2 separate regions of the Homo sapiens genome follow, and region 1 is linked to region 2. The links are contacts of gene promoters, found by promoter capture Hi-C in blood cells and fetal thymus (Javierre and others, 2016). All regions are on one chromosome and are shown on one strand. The core of a region is centred on a gene start or on the middle of the fragment in contact, and the rest is flanking DNA. Distances in the headings are between cores, read along the strand shown.

What was found. The method cuts DNA at HindIII sites, captures the fragments that hold promoters and counts their contacts. A CHiCAGO score of 5 or more calls a contact.
Region 1: a fragment that was not itself captured here is called in contact with the fragment with the promoter of VSTM5 in region 2 in 1 of 17 cell types (naive B cells); the score reaches 5.1 in naive B cells.

Annotation. Positions count from the first base shown.
Region 1 is chr11:94,444,959-94,450,643 of GRCh38, reverse strand. It overlaps MRE11 (MRE11 double strand break repair nuclease), which reads left to right. Exons shown (of 20, transcript NM_005591.4): 15 at 3,206-3,425; 16 at 4,751-4,834. Among named protein-coding and RNA genes, the nearest start is that of MIR548L, 19 kb to the left of the region's middle. The HindIII fragment of the contact is 1,345 bases long and covers 3,673-5,017 here.
Region 2 is chr11:93,847,760-93,852,876 of GRCh38, reverse strand. It overlaps VSTM5 (V-set and transmembrane domain containing 5), which reads left to right and starts at 2,259. Exons shown (of 4, transcript NM_001144871.2): 1 at 2,259-2,465. The coding sequence starts at 2,375. The HindIII fragment of the contact is 13,893 bases long and covers 1-4,672 here.

The DNA.
Region 1 (5,685 bases), core at 3,096-5,595, 600 kb before region 2:
TCGTTTTGTTTTATAGTTTTGACTCTGGTTTGTTTTCAGGAGGCAGGTTTTTGCTTTATTATTAATTTTTTATTTTATTGCATGATGATTAGACAGTGTGATAAATTTATTTCTCCTATCAAAAATGTATTGAGATTTTTGTTTGCACCCTGTTATGTATCAGCTAAAAAGTTTCATGGGGTCTTGAAGTATATTATTAATTTTCAGTGTATAGAATTCAACATTTATCAATTAGATCTATCTTATTAATTATGTGATTTAGATCATCTTTTTTCTCTTAAGTCTGCTTTCTAAAAGCATACAGCTGGTTCCTTTTATTTGTGGTAGTTATGTCGTATAAAATCACTTCCAGCACAGAATTAGCAAATGGTGAATCATTGCTCCTAGGGGAAATACAAAATTAGCTTTCTATGAGCCACTGATAACGTTTTTGTCAGCTGATCAATACGTAATCTTTTTAATGTGTTTCTGTTTAAAGATACTGTATTTAACATTTGATTCATTAGCATTGAACTCATAGCCAGTAGCACTTTAACTTATACTTGAATTAAGTTTATCTAATATACATTTTTTCTCCAAAAGTCATATTGCAGCCTTTTTGCATGTAGGAATGAACACTAAACATGTTGAGGGGGTCATTTGAAAACACCACATTACCAAAGCAAAAGTACAAAAATGCAGAAAATGCAATAAATATGTAGTCATGTGCCACATACAACATTTTGATCGATGTCAGACTGCATATCCAGTGGTGGTCCCATGAGATTATAATACCATATTTTTACTATATCTTTTCTATTAAGATATGCTTAGATACCCAAATACATAGCTATGGTGTTATAATTGCCTGCAGTATTCAGTACAGTAACATGTTGTACAGGTTTGTAGCCAAGGAGCAATAGGCTATCTCCTATAGTCTGGGTTTGTAGTAGACTGTACCATTTAGCTTTGTGTAAGTACACACTATGATGTTTGCACAATAATGAAATCACCTGATGACACATTTCTCATGAGGCATCCATCATTAAGCAATGCATGACTATCACAGAAAGGACACTTTAAAGTACACAAGTGGAAACAAGAAGGCAGAGTGGCTCATTGTTCAGCCTCAGCTGGGAATATGTGTGTCAGGCAATTCAAAATATTTACCACTCTGCGTCTCCATAAATGATGCCAAAAGTATCGTGAGTGTTGATTTTTAGGGTTACAGAGAAATTTTGGCAAGTCGGTGAATTTGCAAATATAGGATTAATGAATAATGAGGATTAACTGTATTTCATGTGGGACAGGAAAGATGAATTGAAATCACTGTTGTTTCTTATATTTTTTGTTGTATTTCCTGAAGTGTTTTCTTTTTGCATTGTAATGCTGTATTGAACCCTGCATGCAGTGAGTTAGCTGTGATTTCACCTCAGCTGAGATCATCTCATCATGAAGTTGCCACTTCAGTCCCACTTTATGCTGCCTGCCTTGTTCACATCTCCTCATTTAGCCCTGGGTCTCCTTACTTTATGGTATCACAGAGCTTAGAAATGTTCTGGTCAGCTATTCTTAGACCCAGAACTGCCATTCCAAGCAAGAGAGACTGTTATCATGTCTTCTTGGGATTTATACATCAGTTTTGGAGAGCTGTATAATACCTGAAACTCTTCTCACCTTTCTCCCTTAGCTAGGTCAAATATTTATCATATTCATTAACTCTTCTTTATAGTTTGTGTGTTTGGGGGTTTGGAACTATTTTTTAATTTTATGGAAAATGTATTTTGTTTTTGTTCTCTTACTACCTTTTGATTGGTTTAAGGGAAGATCAAGGCAAAATTGCTTTTATTTATATTTTATTTTATTTTTTGGTGACAGGGTCTCGCTCTGTTGCCAGGCTGGAGTGCAGTGGCACGATGTCTTTTCTAAATGGATTCTTACCAAATTAAAAATGCGTGGCATGTTCTTGGTCCTAAGGTGTTTATTCCTTCTTAGGCTTAGGCTTTCAGTTGATATATTCTCCTTAATTCTTCCGTTTCTTTTCATTTTTTTTTTAGGCAAGGTCTCACTGTGTCACCTAGGCTGAAGTGCAGTGGTGCAATCTCAGCTCACTGCAACAACTCCCCTCCCCACTGCTTCCCCCAGGCTTGAGCGATCCTCCTACCTCAGCCTCTCAAGTAGCTGGGACTACAGGTGCATGCCATCACACCTGGCTAATTTTGTTCTTTTGTGTTTTTTTTTTGTATTTTTGGTGGAGGCAGGGTCTCGCCATGTTGCCCAGGCTGGTCCCTAACTCCTGATCTCAAGCAGTCCATCCACCTAGGCCTCCCAAAGTGCTGGGATTACAGGTGTGAGCCACTGCGCCCAGCCCTTAATTCTCTTTACCATATATTTGTGAGAGATTGTTACTCATGTTTTTTTCTGATTATAAAACTAATTTTTTAGAAAAAGTGTAATATAGAAAATATGTAATATTCAAGAACAAAAAACAAAAGCACCCTAAAATATTAGTGCCCAGAGATAACGGCTATTTTTTGTAAGTTTTTTTCTTATTATTTCCTAGGAGCCGATTCTAAAAAGTAGCTCAAATGATGACAGTCTGTTACTGTCAAATGTGGCATTGAATTAGGGATGATTGCCAGTATTCCTTCTAGTTCTGAAAATTTTGATTCTGTAAAATTTTATTTTTCTTGGTAAACCTTTTCAAAGGGTCTCATTTTATAGGTAGTATGGTAGATTGGTCTGACAGATAATAAGTATTAAATTTGATTGGTGGGGAGGTTCTCCTTTACACATATATAAATATTTTTTGTTTTTATTTTTATTTTTGAGACAGGGTCTCTCTTTGTCACCCAGGCTGGAGTGCAGTGGTGTGATCATAGCTCACTGCAGCCTGTATCTCCTAGGCTCAAGTGATCCTCCTGCCTCAGCCTCCTGTGTAGCTCGGGACTACAGGTGCATGCCACCATGCCTAATTTTTTTTTTTTTTTTTTTTTTTTGTAGAGACGGGGTTTCGCTGTGTTGCCCAGGCTTGTCTCAAACTCTTGGGTGCAAGTGATCCTCCCGCCTCGGCCTCCCAAAGTGCTGAGATTACAGGCGTGAGCCACTGTGTCAGCCTCCTTTATGTTTTTATAGTATGATTAGTTCATGTCAATGCCTAAATTAATGATTTTTAGGATGGTACGTTATCTCATTGTGTGTACTTTCTCCTTCTTCTCCCTCTTAGGCTATGACCAGGGCCAGAGCACTCAGATCTCAGTCAGAGGAGTCTGCTTCTGCCTTTAGTGCTGATGACCTTATGAGTATAGATTTAGCAGAACAGATGGCTAATGACTCTGATGATAGCATCTCAGCAGCAACCAACAAAGGAAGAGGCCGAGGAAGAGGTCGAAGAGGTGGAAGAGGGCAGAATTCAGCATCGAGAGGAGGGTCTCAAAGAGGAAGAGGTGAGCACTGAGTTCAGTCCTGTGCACATTCACACTTGGCAGTTGAGTGGAAAATACAGAATTAGATCTTGTCAGAGTTGAATTATAAGTTTTATTTCTAAAACACGGTTCTTTAAAAATCTATTTTTATAATATATAAAGACAGTCTTTAAGGCAGTTCTGACATGTGCCTTTTACTTAAATAAATTTTGAATGGCCACATGCACTTAGGGTTTTAATTGTTCTTAGCACATACCTTATAAAAGCTTCACTGTGTTTGTCACGTAGTACCTTTTGGATACATTTAATGTCATATGTATTTTCACATGTGCAAAGTAATAGGCAAATATGAGTTGTTAAAGAAAATAGCTAAAAGCCTTTGGCAACAGGAGGAAAACTCCAGATCATACAATTATTATTTTTGTTACTGTCATAAGATACAAATACACATATGCTTATCAAGTAGTCTTTATAAAGTCAGTTTAAGAAAGAAAACTGCCCCCCAATTTGATTCCTAAAACTAGTCATTAACATAGTCAACATTGTATTTACTGTGAGACTATTGTCATTGAATAGTTCACGCCAATAGAAATTGGTCACTCAGTGACTTTCTCACACATTATGTCAGTTCATCTCTAAAGATTTTTTAAAATTGTTTTTATTAAATATGCATCCATAGGAATTTTAAGCTGGTGAAATGAATATTAATTTGGTTTAAAATCTCCAGGGAGAGAAATCCTCATCTTTTAATGATGATTATTTTCACTATTCTTACATTTACAAAATTTTTCCTTAAAAATTTTTATTTTTGTTTTTTAATTTTTCTTGAGATGGAGTCTTGTCTTTGCTCTGTTGCCCAGGCTGGAGTGCAATGGTGCGATTTCAGCTCACTGCAACTTCCGCCTCCCAGGTTCAAGCAATTCTCCTGCCTCAGCCTCCCAGGTAGCTGGGATTACAGGGGCCCATCATCATGCCAGTTAATTTTTGTATTTTTAGTAGAGGTGGGGTTTCACCATGTTGGCCAGGCTAGTCTTGAACTCTTGACCTCAAGTGATCCTCCCGCCTCTGTCTCCCAAAGTGCTGGGATTACAGGCGTGAGCTACCACGTCCAGCCTATTTCCTTACATTTTAATTGGATAAATTAAATTGGATAAACTGAAGTGTGGCCTAAAAGAATAGTCTCTGAAAATTGGTCAGACTCTAGATGTTTGTTCTTATATATATGTCTGGCTTTTTACAGACAAACTATTTGACATAAGTTTATTTAGCTTTCATTTTTTAGTGTTGTATGAAATAAACCTTAGCTGCTGATAGGCTTGTACATTGACTGTTCATTTTTCTAACAGCAGACACTGGTCTGGAGACTTCTACCCGTAGCAGGAACTCAAAGACTGCTGTGTCAGCATCTAGAAATATGTCTATTATAGATGGTGAGTATAGACTGCAAGTGATTATTTATAAATTCCAACATTAGAAAGACCAAGGTAATCACCATTGGTAGCCCTTATTTGTGTTGCAATCATTGGGAAGTTATAAGGGCAATTAGGATCACAGGATAAATTATTTTTTAAAAGATCTTTGCTATGCATTAGAGTTACTGAAGAGGGTAAGCTTTTAAAATCATGTTTTATAGGCCAGGCACAGTGGATCACACCTGTAATCCCAGCACTTTGGGAGGCCGAGACAGGCAGATCACGAGGTCAGGAGATCGAGACCAGCCTGGCCAACATGGTGAAACCCGGTCTCTACTAAAAATACAAAAATCAGCCAGGCGTGGTGGCACATGCCTGTAGTCCCAGCTACTTGGGAGGCTGAGGCAGGAGAATCACTTGAACCCAGGAACTGGAGGTTGCAGTGAGCCAAGATCATGCCATTGGACTCTACCCTAGCAACAGAGAGAGACTCCGTCTCAAAAACAAAACAAAACAAAACAAAAATTATGTTTTATAATTTCTTACTTTCAGACAAATGCTGTTTCTGTTTGGCAGAGAGACCCTGGAAACAGGAAAGTGAAGTAGTTGGTCACTATATGGACAGTGGTCGAAAGAGAGAGGAACTGTCTCTACTGTTTCCTTGCTTCCCCCATACTGCCCTGTCAGTCTCTGCTTTCCATATAGAGAAGTCATGTGACCTATATTTAAGAGAAATTATGGCTAGGCCCTTGGAATTAATTTGTGTATATCCTATGGTCTAAAAATTGGCCTCAAGGGGATCTGTTTAACTATTTTTAATATTATAGATGATGAGATCAGCCTAAAATGTTAGTCATATTTACAAAAAG
Region 2 (5,117 bases), core at 1,010-3,509:
CTAGCACATTGCCTGATATGGGGGCAGATTTGATGTTTGATGGATAAACAAATGAATGCAAGTAATTCCTGAAGGCTTTTACATCTAATAAAGAAAACAGAAAAATGTCAAGAAGACTGCTTGCTTTAGCAGGGCATTCTCAATTTTATATCATAAAAATCCAACTTAAATTTGCTGAGTCAAAGAGGGCATTTATTTGCTGATAAATGGCAAACCCAACCATGCAGAATCCCAGAGCCCAACCCGTGTAGTTAGGCCTTTATCCCTTTCCTCAGTTCCCCACTCAGTTTGTCTCATCTTGGTTTCATTCTTAATCCAGGGCCTCTCCACATGACAGACAAGATGGTCCACCAGTACCCCCAGGTTCATATCCCATTTTTAGTATGCCAGCAGTGGCCACACATTTCCAGGGAAGACGCTGATGGCCCTGTCTGCCCATTCTTGAACCAAATACTTTGGTTGGCAGAGAGGGTACTTCAAATGGACAGCATGGTTGACAAGCCCACCCCAAGCCAGTCAGCAGGGTAACACTAGTGTCGGCCTCACCAGGAACACATCGGAATTGGCAAGAAATCTCCTTTAGAAACCAGAAGGAGATAGGAAAGTACAGTGGATTACGATGTCTTCTATGTCTTCCTTCCTATCTTTTTTTTTAAACAGGGTCTCATTCTGTCACCCAGGCTGGAGTGCAGTGGTACATTCATGGCTTACTACAACCTCTGCCTCCTGGGCTCTAGTGATCTTCCTGCCTCAGCCTCCCAAGTAGCTAGTACTACAGACGTGGGCCACCATGCCCAGGCTAATTTTTATATTTTTTTTGTAGAGATGGGGTCTCAGTATGTTGTCCAGGCTGGCCTCAAACTCCTGGGCTCATGCAATCCACCTGCCTCGGCCTCCCAAAGTGCTGGGATCACAGGTGTGAGCCATCACACCCGGCCCTTCTAGGTCTTTCTATCTTCCTGCTCCACCATCCTTACTTAGCATGATGGTTTTTGCATTCATTTATGTAACTTAATGGATGCAAGACACATGCCACAGATCTGAACAGAATAAATGTTTTCAAGGCAGAAAGAAAGGGGGAGGGGAAGTCCCAGCCTTAGCTGTCCTTTTTATGAGGAAAGCAAAAACTTTTCCAGAAACACCTCAAAAAGACTTCCCCTTAAATATCACTGGCCAGCACTGGGTCACACTGCTACCCCTTGTGGCAAGTGAGGCTAGAAATTCTAGTTTTGACAAAGTGAAATATAATTTCATGACTAGTTTGGACCAAAACTGATTGCCCCACCCCTCCATCGACCTCTCCTGGAGACTAATTACACTTGCTCTGAGCCCCCAGAGCATGCTGGGCCTCTCTGATCCTAGCGACATATGCACTGTACAGCGGTTGCTTTTTTTTTTTTTTTTTTTTTTGAGACGGAGTCCCCCTCTGTCGCCCAGGCTGCAGTGCAGTGGCGCTATCTCGGCTCACTGCAAGCTCTGCCTCCCGGGTTCACGCCATTCTCCTGCCTCAGCCTCCCGAGCAGCTAGGACTACACGCACCCACCACCACGCCCGGCTAATTTTTTTTTTTGTATTTTTAGTAGAGACGGGGTTTCACTGTGTTAGCCAAGATGGTCTCGATCTCCTGAACTCGTGATCCGCCCGCCTCGGCCTAGCGGTTGCTCATTTTTTGCAGCCCCCACCCCTTGCTAGGATTTCTAAACAGGTGCCCACATCCTTGTATCCCCAGCACTTAACACAGTGCCTAGCTTCATTCCACCGGTTTATTTGAGTGACTGCCATGTGCGAGGCTCTGTGCAAATAAAGCAGGCGATTGGTGAACATTTCCTGGATGGATGGAGGGATGGATGGATGGACTGATGGGTGGATAGATGGATGGATATCATCACTGTGCAGTGGTTCCCATCAGGGCAGCCTGAGTCTCCCCACCCCCTCCCCTCATCCCTCTCACTCCAGGCTGTCATTTCACTTTCCTAAAAGCCTTCCCTTTGCCCATGATGCCAATGACTAGCTCTGTCCTGAAGCAATAGCTAGTACTTTCCCTCCTTCCTGCCACCTAGCATCCAGCCGAACCTTGAATCAATACCAGTAAAATGGGTGTGAACGGAAGGAGGCTGCTCATTATTTGCCATTATTTACCTCTGAGTCTGTGCATTCCCATTCCTTCCCATATTAATTCTCTCCCGCGCAACACCCCCCCCCCCCCGCCCCCCCATCCTTGGGAACTGGTTCAACCAGAGTACAACCAGCTCATCTGCATCTGGCCCTAAAGAACCTGCGGCAGCCAGAGGCGGAGGAAGAGAGAAGGCTGCATAGGAGCTGCAGCGCGGTGCGGCCAGCACACACCCCGGCCCGCGAGGCCCCGGGCTCGCCCATGAGGCCTCTGCCCAGCGGGAGGAGGAAGACCCGAGGCATCTCCCTAGGACTCTTCGCCCTCTGCCTGGCCGCAGCCCGCTGTCTGCAGAGTAAGCTCCGGGGGACGCCCCGGGTGCTGGGGGAGCGGGAATGGGTAGGGGGGCACGGGCGGGGCCCCGGGGTCTAGCAGCGGCCCCCCTGGCCCTCGCCCACCTTGTCCGGCTGAGGGCGCGCGGTGAGCTCGGCTGGCAGGCACCGCGCCGCTTCCTCGTGGGGCTGGGCGAGGCCTGGAGACCCGGCGCCGACCGTAGCGGGAGGGGCTGGGCAAAGCAGAGGCTACCGGCCGCGGCGCCCCGGCCCACTTCGGGGCGCCCGCCCCACCCGGCGAGCCCGGCCTACGGTTATCAGAGCTGGAAGGTGGCCCAGAGATAACCGGCTCCCAGCCCTGTGGCCGCCGCCTCTGCAACATTTTTTATTTCTTTTTCCTGGAATAACCAGATTGCAGTCCGTGCGCCGCCCCCTACTGTGGGGACCCCTCCATGGCCTTCCTGGTCATCTCCCAGGAGAATAATCAGGCCTCCTTATCAGTCAGACGAACCCACAGCAGCCTGCTCCCGTGAGAAAAACGGTTCTGGGGTTTGGGTTGGGCGTTGTGGCCTGAAGTCCCCAGGCTGGAGGTGGTCCTCGCGACCAGCGCACTGAGTAGATTTGCTTTGGATGGCCGGACCCGGAATCCCCAGCCTGGTGAGCCTGGATGCGAAGCGTAGTCCCAGAGGCTCTCTTGGACACAAACAACAGATCTTAGCACAGTTTTACTTTCTCATTTAATCATTACCATTCGCACTCCCATCTTACACATGGGCCAACTGAGGTTTAGAGAATGACAGAGCAGGGCCGCTGGAGGTGAGAGGCCTTGTAGTAAGAGCCAGCACTTATTAAGCATTTATGCATTCACCATCCCTCAGACTTTACAAGACCTCTCTCATTTAGTCCTTAGGGCAACCCTAATAAACTACTCTTATTCCTGTTTCACAAGTGAGGAAACTGAGGCACAGAAATGTTATAAGCCAATCGCAGGGGCTCATGCCTGTATTCCCAGCATTTTGGGAGGCCGAGGCCAGCGGATCCCTTGAGTCCAGGAGTTCAAGACCAGCCTGGGCAACATGGCAAACTGTCTGTAGTAAAAATATGAAAAAATTAGCTGGGTGTGGTGGCCTGTGCCTGTAGGCCCAGCTACTGGGGTGGGCGGCGGGGGAGCTGAGGTGAAAGGATCACTTAAGCCCAGGAGATTGAGGCTTCAGTGAGCCCTGATTGTGCCACTGCACTCTAGCCTGGGGAACAGAATGAGACCTTCTCCAAAGCGAAAGAAAAAGAAAAGAAGAGAGAGAGAGAAAAAATAATATTATGTTAACTTATACAAGGTGACTGAACGATCTAACATTTTTGACCTTTACACCTCTCTGGCTAGAACCCAGCTGCAGAGGTTGCAAATCTCAGAAACCCAGTAAGACAGAGGCATGTTCCTCTGGCAGCTATGGATCAAGAAAACAGTTGGTTGTTAGTCTCGAGCAGGTGGATGGGTGTGTTTGTCATTGCAGTGGCTTTTTATATTATTTCTCAAACCTTTATCACTTGTTTCTAATCACCATACTTACACATCTGTTCAGATACCCCTCATGCTCAGGGACCAGCCATTTGCAATAGCGTATAATTCATTCATTCACTCACTCATTGACTGTACCCTCTCCCTGCAGGAAGCAGGCCACAGTGGGTACCTAGGATATGGTGGTTCACTGTTTCGTTCTCAGGAAGCTCAGGTGTCATGGAGAAGACAGACATGCAAACAAGAGGGGCAGCCTTGCAATGGCAAGCCTTGAGAGGCAAGAGGTGCCATGTTCTAGAAGCCCTAGCGTCTCAGAATCCAGACTTGAGGAAACTTCCCCAAAACAGCCCCACCTGCCCATACCTGCCAGATGGGTAGGAGCAGCTCGGGGGACAGGACAAAGGGAATGCAGGGTGTACCAGACAAAATGGCACATGCAAAACCTGGAGGCCAGGTAAAAGTTTGCAGTTTTCCATTGAGACCTGTCTCATGGACAGCAGTAAGCTCCAGGAGGGCAAGCACTCTGTTTCAACTCAGGGTCCCTAGCACTTGCCCAGTGCTAGCCAGGGCCTGCGCCCTTAAAAGACGTTAAATGAATGTGTGCCTGCCTGAATGAAGCCTGTGCTTTGGAGCCAGTCATAATGATGAAGAGTAGGCCTCCTCCTTCCTACCAGTTCCCTGCATGCTCTACCTCTTCTGCCTGTGTCAAAAGCTTCATCCAGAACCTCTGATATTCACTATTTACCCTGAAGTCTGAGTTAAAGCATGCCAAACACCCTGCTTTTGAAACCTTTCCCCTACAAATGTATGGGTCCTCCCAAGATTCATATATTCAAGCCCTAACCTCCAATGTGATGGTATTTGGAGGAGGGGATTTAGGGAGGTGATTTGGTTTAGATGAGGTCTTGAGGTGGGATCCCATAATGGGATTAGTGTCCTTATAAGAAGAGGAAGAGAGACCAGAGCTCTCCCTCCCAGCTGTGTGAGGACACAGCAAGAAAATGCATATTAGCAAGCCAGGAAGAAGGCCCTCACCAAAAACTGGCACCTTGATCTTGAGCTTCCCAGCCTCTCCAGAACTGTGAGAAATAACTGTGGTTTAAGCCACATCAGTCTATGGTCATCTGTTACAGCAGCCCAAGCTGACTAGGACAAGGAC